2 separate regions of the Homo sapiens genome follow, and region 2 is linked to region 1. The links are contacts of gene promoters, found by promoter capture Hi-C in human tissues and cell types (Jung and others, 2019). All regions are on one chromosome and are shown on one strand. Each heading gives the region's core, a stretch centred on a gene start or on the middle of the fragment in contact. The rest is flanking DNA. Distances are from core to core; before and after follow the strand shown. Region 1 holds the start of LRIG3 (leucine rich repeats and immunoglobulin like domains 3). Region 2 has its middle 320 kb from the start of LINC02403.

What was found. The method cuts DNA at HindIII sites, captures the fragments that hold promoters and counts their contacts. A contact is called where the count stands out against the background at its distance.
Region 2: a fragment that was not itself captured here is called in contact with the fragment with the promoter of LRIG3 in region 1 in 1 of the 25 tissues and cell types used here (mesenchymal stem cells).

Annotation. Positions count from the first base shown.
Region 1 is chr12:58,917,704-58,925,621 of GRCh38, forward strand. LRIG3 (leucine rich repeats and immunoglobulin like domains 3) reads right to left here and starts at 2,801. Exons shown (of 19, transcript NM_153377.5): 1 at 2,297-2,801. The coding sequence starts at 2,532. LRIG3-DT (LRIG3 divergent transcript) reads left to right here and starts at 3,001. Exons shown (of 6, transcript NR_183518.1): 1 at 3,001-3,087; 2 at 3,696-3,769. RefSeq lists enhancers at 1,698-1,967, 7,341-7,918 and silencers at 2,348-2,427, 2,848-2,957, 3,576-3,685. The HindIII fragment of the contact is 9,447 bases long and covers 1-5,120 here.
Region 2 is chr12:58,399,508-58,407,425 of GRCh38, forward strand. No RefSeq gene overlaps it. Among named protein-coding and RNA genes, the nearest start is that of LINC02403, 320 kb to the left of the region's middle. The HindIII fragment of the contact is 3,419 bases long and covers 3,521-6,939 here.

The sequences.
Region 1 (7,918 bases), core at 1,551-4,050:
GATAGACACTGAACTTTTTCTGAAAAGTGCTTTCATAAGCCAGTCCAAAGACAAACTCCTACTATTTTGATTACCCAAGGAAAGGGAAGGTAAGATATGGGGAACAAAAACATGCATTTTTCTATTTATATCTGAACTCGGAAATCATCTCCTTAAGACGATTTTTCTAATTACGAAAAACTTTAGTAGCTTTTTAGACCACCTATTCTAAAATACCAAATAACAGAGAAAGTAAAACTCAATTCCACGTGTTTTTCTGCTCCTTTCAAAAGTGGAAAGAGGAGACCTCTAGAGCTTTAGGTACAAACAAAAGAAATATTTACAATAAAGAATCCAGACCACATGGTTTGGTGACACCTACAAAGATGGTTAAAAGTCACAGAAGTACAGGAATGACAGAGCTGTCCAATAAGTGATCACAGCAGGGTTCCTGACAACAGACTGAGTGCTTATTTATACAAGTGGAACTTATTTTCACATACATTTAAGGAATGTGGGCTAGTATTGAGACAATTTACTGCTGGTGGAAATGTAATTAAAGACTGTGCTAACCAAATAAACTCTAATTTGTTTTTAGTGTGCCACCAAATTATCTGCAAAACAAAATCCTAATTAGGTCAGCTACTTTTAAGACAATGTTTAAATAGGTATCGAACCCCTTTTGGTTCAACTCAACTTCTGATCAAGGGCAACACAGATTTTTTTTCTAAACATCTAAATCCAGGAAAAAAGAAAAAAAGTACTGCACACTAGCATGATCACAATAGACAACTTGACATTGAAAAACTATCGAATACAAGTTAGATGCCGTGAATAATCTAAGCATATCTAAATACACTCCAGGAAGCACTGTATTCATTTTCTCTTTCTCATCCCTCTATTATTCCTAAGTGTTCACCTCCAGTCATTTACATGTTCAGTTCCATATGTTGTCAATAGAGCCATTCACTCATGAATAAGGCAGCATGACCTCCACAAGAGGCAATTTAACAGAATTAGCCACAACTAATTGAAAGTCTCCCTGCTTTCGGTTAAAGACCTTATCTCCTCTTCCAATTGCAATAAAAACTACTAAATAAAACGTCCCAAGAAATTAAATATCAATCCAATACTAATTCTACTTTATTAAACTAAGGCTTATTAAAAACACAAGGAATATACTTTCTGATGGCCAACAATTCTACATTCACAAAAGTTATTTAGATTAGCACAATAATTTTAAAATATAAATTCTTAAACACCTGACCAAACCTCCTACCACATTAGGGCATTGGAATAGTTCACTAGAATTGTTTTAAAAACTTAAAATTTTCATTGCAATTCTGCTAAGTCAAAATATAAGATTACGTATGAAGTGCACTTTTATTTTAAACAGAACAACTACTTTAAAAAATACAAATTTTGATTGTTTACTTTTTACAGCACTCCAATTTTAAAACTGGGACTGAGGAAGAAAAGAGATGACATTTGGAAAAGATCAGCATTTCCAACTAAATTACATTTTCTTCCTTGTTCTTCACGCAGTTGGCAGTGATTTCAGGTTTTCAGACTTCGCAGCTAAAAATCCAAAAACTTGCATAAGAGCTCCCTGCGCTCTCCCCTAAACCGTCTGGGCGTTCTGAGGAGCTACAGAAATCACGCCCTTGATTCTGGATAATCGAGTTCCGCCCTTTCCATAGCTACCGACCAGTCTTTACAATCTGGTTGAGGAGTGGGAACTTACGGTCTGCTAATGTGAAAAAGCAAGCAGAGGGAGAACAACAGAAGTACGTCCACCATAACTTGGAGAATGACCGAATTCTGTTGAGGGGGCTTCCCAAATGAAAAGCCTGACTTCAGTTACTGGGTGGGAACAGGAAAAGGAGTCTGACGCAGCTAGAAACTAAAACTGAACCAGACTCATAACTCAGCGAGAACTGCAAACTCCTGATGTGTGCAGGTTGCCGCTTATCTCCCCTGGGCCTGGCAGGAGCAAGCATTTGAACCCCTTGGCTAGCTTAGGGCGCAGGACTTCATCCCCAATCTCTGGCGTCGTTACTGGCCCCCAACCCTGGTCTACCTGCAGCCAGTTAGGACGCGCCAAGAGCCCACCTGCGCCGCCCGCAAAGCACGTGGGAGGGAAACTGAGGCCCGGACAGTTCTTTTTCCACGCCCACGGAGCGCCGATCGCGGCCTGGGCCAGAAGGAGCTATACGGCAAAAAGGGGACTGCACGCCGAACCCCATTCCCCGCCGGCTCCTGTTTTCTCGAATCTCCAGCGGCCCGGGCCCCCTCCCCCCGCGGGAAGAATACTTACAGCCGAGCGACCCAGGACGGGAGTGGCTCGGGAAGACGCGCTAGCCGCTTACGACTGCAGTCCAGCAGGTCCCCGAGGCAGCGGCAGGTAGTGGGGCATGGGCGCTCGGCGGCTACCCCAGAGGGCTGCCCGAGTTCCCCGCGACCGCCGCTGTCTGACCGGCCAGCGCGCCCCAGCACCGCGCACAGCAGCAGCCCCAACCCCGCGGCGCGCGCACGGAGGCTCGGCGCGCTCATCGCGGTCCAGCGGCCTAGGTCTCTACCCGAAGCTCCCAGCCGGCGCGCGCTCGGGGCCCGGCACAAACTTCCAGCCGAGGGTGCACGCCCGCCCTCGCGGTCGCGTGCGCGCTCCTCCCTCGCGCTGCCCGGTCAATTCCTTCTTTTACTCCCGGCGGCGAAGCCCTTTCATGCCCCCAAACAGCAGGAGGGAAACCGAAAAGAACTGCCAACTGCAACAGAGTTGCAGCTTGAGCAGCGTCGGCTCGCCGAAGCCCCTTCTTGTCTGCAAAAGAAACTTTTTCGCCTCCACCCCGCGGCACTGCGCCAAGTCCCCGCGCGGCGGAGTAGCAAGGCGGGCGGGTAGAGGCCGACGCGCGCCCATTGGCCGACTCGGCTGCGGGCGTCCCCGTGGCCACGTGACAATAACACCGCTCCAGCCGGGGGCCTACGCGCGGGAGAAAGTGGAGCTGAGATTGTAGGAAATTCAGAGTTATATTTTCCAGCCTCTCCAGCCAGAAGTCTCCACTACGTCGTGGGAAACATATATCAAATGGAGTTGAAAGGCAAAAGGAAGTGAGCAAATACTGGGCTAGTTCTCGGAGTTGGAGGTATTTAGGAGAACTTCAGGGAAGTAAAGTTTAATTAGCAGTGTTTTCAGGAAACTTTTCAATTCCAAATTAAAGACACTGATAAATTATCCTACCATCCACAGATGAAAGAGTGGTTTCAATGAAAACAGCTCTTTCAACGTTAATGCTGGTGGGTGTTCCCCCATACATCGGCTTCAAAAGTAAAAACAATAATAAAACGTAAAACTCGTGGTTTTGGAAAGTGTATATTGAATTACAAATAGCCAGCCTTCGTGCACTGGATAAAGCTGGGCGGGGTGGGGGATGGGAGATGACCTTCTAATAGACCTCGATGGCAATCATAGATTCCTGGTAATAGTAATAATAAAAGTAGTCACAGTGACATTTCAAAGTAAAATGAAAACTAAGACCTTGGAGGAAAAAATTAGTATATGCACCTTGGTCCACTTGCGCTTTGAGTAATGACACATGTTGATTGAGAATGCTACCAGGGTAAAAGTACCTCCCGGCCTCCTCAGCTGGGGGAGTGGATGTTTGGGGCTGGATTCAGGCTACAGGACTTCCCAGTGAAGTTTGTTCCTTAACTTACAGGTGATCAGCGCCACAAGATGTTGAAACTAATGGAGACCGCAGAGATCATGTGCTAAGGGGCCTTCCTCCTCTGGGTAAGGAAATAGACCTAGAGAACGTAACTAATGTGTTTGTTGCAAAAAAAATAAAAATAAAAGCAAGACAGAAAACATGAACAAACCAAAAAACAAACCCTGGAAGCTTAAAGTAAGTTTTCACTTCTATACATTGTTTATTGCATGCTGTCTGCCCAAGCTTGTCTGTCCTTGGAGTTGCGTAAACTGCTCATGATTGAGGAGTGGAGATAGCTTGTGGAGTTGAGACTTTAACCCTGACTCTAAGGCCCATTGATTTTTCACTGTAGCAAATCACTCCCACTTACGGGGGAAGGAAAAGACTCACTTTGAAGTTAACACACCCTATTTTAGATATGGTATCCCATTTTCTTATTTCCAGCTACCATTAACAACAACGCTACTACCTTTTTGGATGATGTATAATTATAATTAGAAAATATCTATAATGATGGCACCTTGGTTTTGAATTTATGATTTTGTCTGCTTGGGAGTAGACAAAACACACTACAGTCATAGTAAGGATTTTCCAGCTCAGTATCCCCCATCTATTTTTATTTATTTTTTTTATTTTTTTATTTTTGAGATGGAGACACTCCAGTCTGTCACCCAGGCTGGAGTGGGGTGCAGTGATGCGATGTCGGCTCGCTGCAACCTCTACCCCCTGGGTTCAAGCAATTATCCTGCTTCAGCCTCCCAAGTAGCTGGGATTACAGGTGCCCACCACCACACCCGGCTAATTTTTTTGTATTTTTAGTGGAGACAGGGTTTCACCATGTTGGCCAAGCTGGTTTCTAACTCCTGACCTCAGGCTATCCGCCCGCTTTGGCCTCCCAAAGTGTTGGGATTACAGGCGTGAGCCACCACACCCGGCCCCCCATCTATTTCATACAAGGAAAATTAGGTATAATTCATTGAAGTTTTTAAAAAGAAGAAAGATTCCATTGTACACATGCCATTATGCATAAGCAAGGTAACATCAGTATGGAGGCTTGCTCTTGAGACATGAGACATATGACAGGGATATAAATGTGCTACCATTTTGGGGAGTTTTGGCTCATTTCCTTTTCTCATTCTTTATTCTCCTTGTATAATTTCATCTTCTTCCATGAATTCCATTTACATTTACATGCTGACATATACAACATCCATATTTCAGCCCAGGTCTTTTTCCTAAACTCGAAATCCATATGTGCAATTACCCACAGGTCATTAAAAATTGGATGTTCAAATGTAACATGTCTAGAATTAAATTTCACCACCCTTGAAACTGACTTGTTTCCTCCTGAATTCACTGTCTTAAAGAGTGGATACTTCCCTCCATCCAGATGAATGCCCCAGAAACCTGAAAGTCACCTTAACATTACTTCATTCTCACCACCACCACCACCACCACCAGAGTCAATCAATTAGCAAGTCATGTTAAAGCTAGCTCCTAAATGTATCTTCTCTCTGTAGAAATTATGCAAATCCAGACCACCAGCAGCTCTTGCCACCTATCAGGCATTCCACTGCTTTCTCCTCAGGGCAGTTAAGTGATATCTCTGAAGGTCAAATCTGAGCCTGTGACTCAACTGACCAGTTCTTTTCTTGGGTTCCTAGTGTCTTGAGAATAAGGTTCAAATTCTTTAGAGTGACTTATACAGTTTTGTTTGTTTGTTTTGGCATTGAGCCTCTATTTATCTCTTTAATTCATTGTCTTTCATCATTTTTCTCCTACTCTAGGAGCTACTTGCAATTCTCTTCCCAGCTGTACTCTTGCCTTCAGCCCTCTTGCAAATGGTTCTTCTGTCCAAATCATTCTCTGCTCCTTCTTCTGCCTGGTTGATGGCATTCCTTCTTTGGCAAACACTTCCCTGAGTCAGGTTTAACTATCTATACCTCCAGTATACTTCCAGCACATCAGTATTGACTGGAATGTAATAGACCATTTTCACTCTAACCCCCAGGTAATACTACAGAATTTTCCGATAACCATGTATTCCTTATCGCCTTTAAGGGTTTTACCAGCTATTGTGAAGTTAAATTACCTAAGTTTTCAGTACCCCAGTTTCTCAGTCTGTAAATTGGGAATACAATAAAAAACGATCTTATCTGGCTGGCTTCCATTTATCAGTTACTGGATTAGCAGTCACTCTGTTCTCTCTGTACAACCTGACTGATGCCTATGACCAGCTGAAATCTAGAAACTACCAGCCTCTCCTTAGAACAGCCTTTGCATATTTGCTCCTACCTGTCAGGTGCTGATCCACAGTAGTTACAGACTTGTTTATATATATTATTAATGTTACACAATATTGTGTAAACCAAATACAAGTGCAACAAGAAAATACCTTTATTTCTATGATAATGAATTTGAAGGTTGGGAAAGATTCTTTAAAGGTAATCGATAAAACAATGCTATCCAATTAGATGAAGATAAGACAGTTGTAAATATGGGAGGAGGAGATTACAAATATCTAGGAGATTTTTTTGGAAAGGTTACTTTGCAAGTAAGATCTTGTTCCACTTTAATTGTATTTGGGAATTAATCAACAGAGGACGTTTTATGGGTGTGGCTTAAGCTTACTCAGAACTTAATGGGATCATTGAGAGAGTAAAAGAGGATGACATGGAAAGAATACAGCGCACATTAAAAATCACTGTTCTACATTTCGATATGTGCTTAACCATGTGGTCAATACAAAGGGGAACTAGTCCTACATGAAAACTTAATTTTTTTATTTTTATTTTTTTGAGACAGGGTCTCACTCTGTCACCTAGGCTGAAATGCAGTGGCGGGATATTGGCTCACTGCAGCCTCAACTTCCTGGGCTCAGGCGATCCTCCCACTTCAGCCTCCTGAATAGCTGGGACCACAGGCGCATGCCACCATACCAGTCTAATTTTTGTATTTTTAATATATGTATATATAGATATATATATATATAGAGAGAGAGAGATGGCGTTTAACCATGTTGTCCAGTCTGGTCTCGAACTCCTGGGCTCAAGAAATCCATCTACTCGTTTCGGCATCCCAAAGTGCTGGAATTACAGGCATGAGCCACCTGCCTGGCTGAAACTTTACATCAATGTAATATTTTCACAGGCTTCTCAAACCTTTCATGAACCACAGGGCAGAGAGAACTTCCACTGGGTATCCATCTGGGCAGATGAGAACTAATATCTTTTGAGGTCCCTTACAGCTCTGTTCTGATTCCTTTACAGTATATAGAAAATAGGCGTGAAGGCAGAGTGACAGCAAAGATAGTTGTAATAGAGGAAGAAGAGGTACATAAAATTCTGTTTAATCTCCCAAAATGTATCAGGGAATAACAGTGACCTAGAAACAGGATTAATGTATCACTGAATTCTCTGATACTCTTATGATGTCATTTTCTTGTATACACACACACACACACACACACACACACACACAGAGGACACAGTGCTATCAAATGTTGAATCTCAGTTTTTGTGGATAATGGCTTACAAATAAGAATTTAGTATGAGAAAGTCAAATTCATTTTGACCAGAGGTCTTTTAACATTTGAAATAAAATGAGATAAGATGTTGGATTTCTCTACTCCTTCAGAGGTTTACACTGGTTAACCAGGTAGTTGGAAGTTAGCTTTCCATTGGAAATTGCTGAGATCACACCAGACAGTTTCTCGTTTCCAGCTGTGTCCCAGTGAATGGCAAGTTTCATCCATTTTCAAAAGGGTCTCCTACCACCCATTTTGTGGTGAGCATAACCCAATCCCAGTGCTCTTTTTAGTTTTCCTGGTCTTTTTTCTTTCTCTGGCAAGTGTGAGACTTTCTTATCTTGAGTGCTGGCAAGGCCAGTGACTCACCGATAAAAAGTAATAGAGGTGCTAAACTGTCAGTTTTAACATCCAAGGACAAGAATGAAAGCTAAACACTCAGTACTTGCTTTATCATTACAATGAATGACACAGTTTGTGTAAGTGGGAGCTGTGAAAAGGGAAAAGAGATAAGGCAAAGGAGGAAGAAAAGCACAAAAATCCCCAGATAATGATGCCAAAAGCAAATGTTGCTGTACTTTGTAACTTAACCATATCTTTTCCCATTCATTAAGGCATTTTAGAAGAAATAGATAACCTTCCTTTCTCTCTCTCTCTCTCACACACACATACAAACACACAAAATGCACAGCTTCACTTAGAGAGC
Region 2 (7,918 bases), core at 3,980-6,479, 520 kb before region 1:
AGTTTCAGTAGGAATGGTACCAGCTCTTCTTTTTACCTTTAGTAGAATTAAGCAATCCTAAGCAAAAAGAGCAAAGTTGGAGGCATCACATTACCTGATTTCAAATTTTACTACAAGGCTATTGTAATCCAAACAGCATAGTACTAGTGTAAAAATAGACACATAGATCAACAGAACAGAATAGAGAATAGAAATAAAGCCACATAGCTATAACCACCCGATCTTTGGCAAGTTGACAGAGATATACAATGGGGAAAGGACACCCTATTCAAAAAATGGTGCTGGGAAAATTGGATAGCTATATGCAGAAGAATAAAATTGGATTCCTATCTCTCAACATATATAAAAACTAACTCAAGATTGATTAAATACTTAAATATAAAACCTGAAACTATAAAAATTCTAGAAGAAAACTTAAGGAAACCTCTTCAGGACATTGGCCTATGCACAGAATAATTGACTAAGACCTTAAAAGCAAATGTGACAAACCCAAAAATAGACAAATGGGATTTAATTAAACTAAAAAGCTTCTGCACAGCAAAAGAAATGATCAATAAACATCCAACTTACACAATGGGAGAAAAAATTTGGAAACTGTGTTTCTGACAAAGGACTAAATATTCAGAATCTGCAACAAACTCAAACAACTCAACAAGAAAAAAAGAAATAACCTCATTAAAAAGTGGGCAAAGGACATGAACAGAAAATTCTCAACAGATAACAAACATGAAAAAATACTGAACATCATTTATTATCAGAGAAATGCAAACTAAAACCACAATAAGAGACCATCTCACACCAGTCACAATGGCTATTACTAAAAACTAAAGAAAAAAAACCCCAACAGATATTGAAAAGGATGCAGAGAAAAGAGAATGCTTATACACTGTTGATGGGAATGTAAATTAGCACAATCACCATGGAAAGCAGTATGGAAATTTCTCAAAGAACAAAAATAAAACTACCTTCTTATTCAGCAATCCCACTACAGGGCATCTATGAAAAGGGAAAGAAATTATTATATCAAAAAGATATTGGCACTTGTATGTTTATTGCAGCACAATTCACAATAGTAAAGATATGGAATCAACCTAAGTGTCCATCAATGGAGGACTGGATAAAGAAAATGTGGTATCTATATACCCTGGAATACTACTCAGCCATAAAAAAGAATAAAATCTTGTCTTTTCAGCAACATGGGTGGAGCTGGAGACTATTATCCTAAGTAAAATAACTCAGAAACAGAAAATCAAATACCACTTATAAGTGGGAACTAAACAATGGGTACACCTGGACATGGACATATAGATGGAAATAATAAATACTGGAGGCTCCAAAAAGGATGAGGGTCAGAAGAGGGTGAGAGTTGAAAAATTACATGTTGGATACAATGTTCTTTATTCATGTGATGAGTACACTAGAATCCCAAATTCCACCATACACAATATAACAATGTTCATTATTCATGTGATGAGTACATTAGAAGCCCAAACTCTGCCATACACAATATATCCATGTAACAAACCTGCACACATGTACCTTCTGAATCTATAAATTTTTAAAAATAAAACAATTTGCATAATTTCAGAGTATTCTGTTGTATGAATATGCATACTTTTATTTTATATTAATATTTTATTGAGTGATTGCTTGCTGGAGACAGGATCTCACTATTTTCACCAAGCTGGTCTCAAACTCCTGGCCTCAAGCAATGCTCCTGCCTCTGCCTATGAAAGTGCTGGGATTACCAGCATGAACCACCATGACCAACCCTAAAATTTTATCTATTAAAAAATATTCGTGGGCATCTTCAATACTGTTAAATGACTTTAAAAACTGGACAAAAATGTTTTAAAAAGGAGTGAATATTTTAAAGCACATATTAATAGTGTAAATAGTCATCTGGAAGCATTGAATGTGTTCATGCTTCTTCCATGGTTTATGAGAATGCCTGATTCCATATGTTCTCATGAGTATTGAATAATGTCATGCTTTTAAAAATCTTTTCCAATTAGATATTTAAAAATTGTCTTCTCGATGAAGCATATTTTGTCCCTGTTTTTTAGCCATCTGTATTTCTTCTCTGTTGCATTGTCTGCTTGGAGTGGCAAAACATTTGAAGTTTTGCTATATTAAAAGTATGCCCTTATGGTTTCTGTTTTTATCACTGCTTAAAAAAATGTATCCTAATATCAAATAAATCCTGATCTAGTTAATTCATGATTTTACTTTTTAAATTCAACTTATTTATTTATTTCAAGTTTATGTTTCTCTAATGTCCAAGGTGGGATCTAATTTCATTTTTCGTTTCTGAAAGGTAAACTAATTGTTCTAGAAAGAACTACTGACTTATCTATCTGTATCAGTTAGGAATTTCTTTAAATAGGATAATGAAGCTGACAATGATGAAGCTTTTCAGTTAAATGATAATCTCTAGCTTTTAATCAGAGTGGTGGACCATTTATATTTAATGTAATTATTAATATGGTTGAGTTTAAATCAACTTTCTCATATTTGTTTTCTATTTGTTACACTATTTATATTCCTCCTTAAAATCCTTGTTTTATATTAAGTAATTTTAAGTATTTTATTTCAACTATTGATTTATTTGCTATTCTTTTTGCTATTTTTCTTAGTGGTTGCTCTAGAGTTTAGAATACACATTTTAAAACTTATCAGAGCCTACTATGAAATACTATTACACTACTTCACATGAAATGCAGACTCTTACAGCAGCAAAATTTTAGTATCCCCTCCCTATTCTTTGGGCTTTCACTGTCATATATTTTATTTCTGCATATGTTCTAAACTTCACAATACATTATTGTTATTTTGCTTTAAGCATAAAACAAATGAACAAATGAGAAAAAATATTTTTATTTACTTACATATTTACCACCTCCAGCACACATTATTCCTTTCTGTAAATCTGAATTTTAATGTTATCATTTTCCTTCTACTTGTAGAACTTTCTTAACATTTATTGTAGTGCAAGTGTGGACTATATTTTATGAAATAAATACTGATTTAAATCAATCAATCAAATCAGTCAATATCTTCTATTTACAAAAGTCAATCATTTTAAGAGTCTACTCTTCTTTGTAGTCTTTAGAATATTTTTAATTTTTATTTCTCTGAAATTTCTTTCTATAGTTCCAAGTGTGAATTTTTCCTCTTTGTTTATTGTCAAAGTGAGATTTATTTAGTCTTGAGCTTCTCAAACGTACAGCGGCTGGATGTGGGTGGAAAGGCATAGTCTTTAATTGACCATTAACTTGGTAATATTCAAATCCCTTCATATCCATTTCCAAGTTCTTTCATGCGCACAGTTCCCATTTCAATTCTCATTATCCAGAAGGTATTCTTCTAGTAAAACTCTATTATACCAAGGAAGAAAAGAAATCTTTCTTATTTCCTAATATTCTTGTTACCTAATATTTTTAACTCCTTGATTTATGTAACACATGAAACATCACAATTCCCAATGTACACAGTCACCAAGGCTCCTCTCTGTTGGCTTCCACACACAAATCTTTACATGTGGAGGGTCTATACTTCCCAGAAACCATGTCTTATTGTAGGTTGTTTCTCTTACCTCTCAGCTACTTTTACAGGAATTATTGTCTCCAACTAAATGTTGGAAATTAGTTTTGGCTGAGAGTGAGGCAGTGATGTGTCTAACTCAATTGGACTGATGTAATGCTTCTGTAAGAAAAATGGGTACATTTTTATTAATATTGATGATTTGAAAACTATATTTCTAGATTTTACATATTCCCTCCTTGAAATGGGATACCATCATCCAAAACTAATCAATTGTTGGGGGGGGGGGTGGTCTTTAAATTGCTCTGTACTTCCATCCTGCTTATTATCTTGACTTCTATTTGTTTGAGAAATAAGCTCGAAATGTAATTATCTCAAATAAGGAGACTTCAAGTCTGGAATATAATGCTTAGAAAAGTAATTGGCTTTTAATGCTCTTACTCATGATCCCTAAGGCTCTATTTGGATGAAAATACCAGAGACACTTGGAAAACTGTCTCTAAAAAACTTTAATGATGATTGACTTGATTCAGAAAAATTATTCACTAACCCCCACCTCATTCTCTATGTTAAATATTGAAATATAAAGTTATTGACTCTTAGTCAAATAACGAACTTGGCCACGTATGCCTGTTTCAGCTGTGGTAGCTTACTTCTGCAGGGTCAAGTAGTTCCAAATGAAATTGAATAAACATGGGGGTATTCAGACACCATGGATTATATTTAAATCCTAGACATTAAAATTTACGTGGATTTGAGACAGCATTTGTTGAAAATAACATAGTAGGAAGGCTTTCTTCTTCAATATCCTCAAAGTTAATATTTTTGAATCTCATGATACAGGGCTGACTAGTTTCTGAAAAAAAAGAAAGAATAAACCTGTAGTAGTAATTTATCATTCTTGACATTTTTCTTTCAGTTTAATTACCGCTGAGCAGCAGAACTGACACTTAATAAAAGTAAGAAGCATTTAAAAATCCTCATAGAAAATCTCCACATTACAGGAGAATTGAAAAGCTATAAGATACACCTGACCACACCCATCATCTTATTTTATCGTTGAATTTCAAAGTACTCCATGTTAAAGCTTTAAAGACAATGGGACCCCAAAAGAGTAATGTGCTGATAGCCAGTAGGGCACCTGCTTCTGAGAGTCCATAATGTCTTTAATTTTTAAAGATTTTTAAAAAATCTTGCTCTCTTTTCTCCTCATTACAGTGGTATGGAACCCTGTGGCCAAAATTCAGAGGGAAGTTGCACTGTTTCCCAAGTGACTCATTTACTATCAAATATCCTGAAAAACCAATCTTTTTGTTCTCTTTTTGCTTGACTGTAAGAATGAGCCCAGAGGACAGGCCCTTAGATAAGGGCAGAAAGCATAGCCCAATACAATGTAGTTTGATGGGCCAGGAGGTACCTCTGGCCTCTGAATTCTCCCCTCTCACCTCTCCTGATGCCCAACATTCATATCTTTTGAACATTAATTTTTTTTCAGACTTTCAGAGTCTCCCATTAAAAGGACCCTATTAAAGTAGCATTAAGTAGTCTGACAATAAGACCTTTAGGATATAAAATAGAAATAGGAAGAAAGGAGCTACTTTAGGAAGATGATAAGAGAAGATAAACTCTTATTTAACCCCCTATTATGCAGTGGACATCTGTGACTTAGGTACAGATATGGAAACTAAAGCTCAGAGATATCCAGTGATTTGCCTAAGGTCACATGGCTAGTTAATAGCACGTAAGAGTTTTCAAAGACAAGCATAAGCAAGGTATCTTCCTTCCCACAGTGTAGTACTAAGGTCAGTTTTACATAGTGAATAGTTCCTAAATCATTGCAATAAATGGCAATGGCAACAATCACCTTTAGAGATCTGGAGCATTTAAATATTTGTTGAATGAGACAGTAATGATCTGACTTAGTTTTCTGCTGAAAAAAAAAACCGTGAAAATCCCATTGAAATGAACTGAGATATTATAGATTAATTACTCCTGGAAAGATAGCAAAGCAATATTCTTCAGGTATAAGAAATATAAGCATCATTTACAAACTTAACACCAGAAATGACTACATAACAAACCTATAAGCTTAGTAACATAGGATGTGGGTTAGATGTGGCAAGAAAATTACACTTAGAAGAAATAAATCAATTTCCATTAGCCAAATTTCATGGATTAAAAGAATAAGCACACTAGATAAAAGGTAAAAGTTAATGGGATTTTGAAGCAATTTCATAACTATTTAAAAATACTCAAGCTACACAGTGTCAAAACAGTCATAAGATATGGGGGGGAAATAATCAAAAGCATAATTACTAGAATTGAATGCTGTTGTTTTCATGGAATTAAACATCATTTAAAAAGTCAAAAATATTTAGTGAGCCCCAATTAAATGTTTAAAATTCCAATTCTCTTTGACATTCCCACCTCCAAAGAAGTATCAGGAGACCTACGCATACCATGTGCTGAATGGCTGGGTGTTATGTAGGACTCAAAGGTGGAAGGAAGTGGTCTCTCTTCCCCTCTAGGAGTTCACAACTGGTTGAAGCGACAGATACATATACTTATTATGTCTTCAAAGCCAAGTGGTGTGGTAACTGTTTTAAGAGAGTTTTAGATCTAGTGCTATGGAAGGCTTGTGAGTGCGACATTAACATTCACGGGTGCTGTTAGTGGTGTTATTTGAAGGAGAGAGAAAGATGTCCCCAAGTTACCTACAGCCTGATTCGGATAAGAAAACTAATACCCTGGAACATAGATTTTGATTCAGCCAGACTTGTTCTGCCTGTGGGGAGACAGCCTTGAATCGGAAGCAAAACAACTCATTTTATGCTTTTTCCCCATTCTTTTCTCCCGCTGGCTTGTTGAGATTCTCCCAACGTGATAGTATGTACTTCTATTTTAATGACAAAAGGCTGTCGTGATTTCTCTTGGACCACAGTGATTTTGGTATGCTTATCCGTTTTTAAAGTCATGTTGGTGGTTGAATTTATACAAAATGTTTAAAATTTCCTGGAACAAAACCAGCTGTAACTTATCAGAGGAAGAAAATAATACAGAAATACTTGCAAACAAAAGAAAAGACAAACAACCCTTCCCTCAAATCTACAAAGAAACTCACACAGACACATCAATTGCCAGCGTACAATATGATGCTTCTGACCTTTCACCTGTTGAGCTGTTAATGAGTTGTTTCCCTGGTTGTGGCGCTATACCATGAATTATCCACATTTTATTCCCTTCATTTGCATGTTCTTAGTATCAGGGTGAATCCAGGTATGTGACTGGGAGAAAATTCTGGCCAGCCAGCTCTGAGAGAGAACATGAGGCCACCTGTCTGTACCTGCACCTGCTTTTAGATACCCATTGATTCAGTAAACTTCTAATGAGTGCCTACTATGTAGCAGGCACAGTCACAGACATGGGGGATGCACCTGTGGACAAGGCTGACGCAGCTGCCGCCATCTTGGAATTTACTGTGGGGTCGAGAGGAAGGATGTTACCAACAGGCAAGTGTGAGTTGTATTATAGCTGTACATATGGCAAGTGCTTGCTAAGGGAAATGGCGGAAGCATAGAGGTGAGATCTTTAACCTGGAAGTGATGTCCACGTTGTGTCCTAAGGAACACATAGGAGTTAGCCAAGCGGAGGGCAGGAATGAGGTGGGGGAGTGTTCCAGGCAGGGGAGCAGCATGCATAAAAGCAGAGGCTAGAGGGAGCACGCTTGATGTGCACGCTGAATGCAGAGAAGGAGGAGGGGAGTTCAGGAGGGGAGGCCAGAGAGGTAAGTGGAACCAGGTCCCAAAAGGTCTGATTTTCTTCACTGAACTCATCTACTCTTCTTCTAGAACTCAGCCTGGTGAGATGGGCATTCAATGTTTGTTTTTCTGGTCTGTGATATTTTTCTCATTACCCCACTCCCCAACCTTCCCTTCCAGGGACACAGCTGGGAACAAGGCTCAAGGCCTCTAGGCTGTATTCACATTAGTATGTATAAAGTCACCATCTCCACTGCTCTTAAGAATCAGCTTGAGTTTTAGAAGGAGGGAGTGTGTGAACTGAGAGTGTGGTTTTGTGCCTGGTTCAATATATGAAAGGAGTAATTGTGCTTTTGGAGAGTAAAGGGCTCATAGGCTATGGGTTTGGAAATTTTCATTGAGTGTCTTCAGTGGAATTTCATTTAGTGGACTCATCGCCTAACTTTCCAGGAAGCTGAGATGCTTAGTGGGAGTTATATTTTGGTTTCCCACTGCAAGAGATGTATTGAGGCCTATGTTTTGGCTGTTTTGTTCTTGTGAGATTAGAGAGGCTGCTCTAGATACATTTCCAAACTCACCTGGGGATATTGGTGCTCTGTGAGCATTTAAATAATATA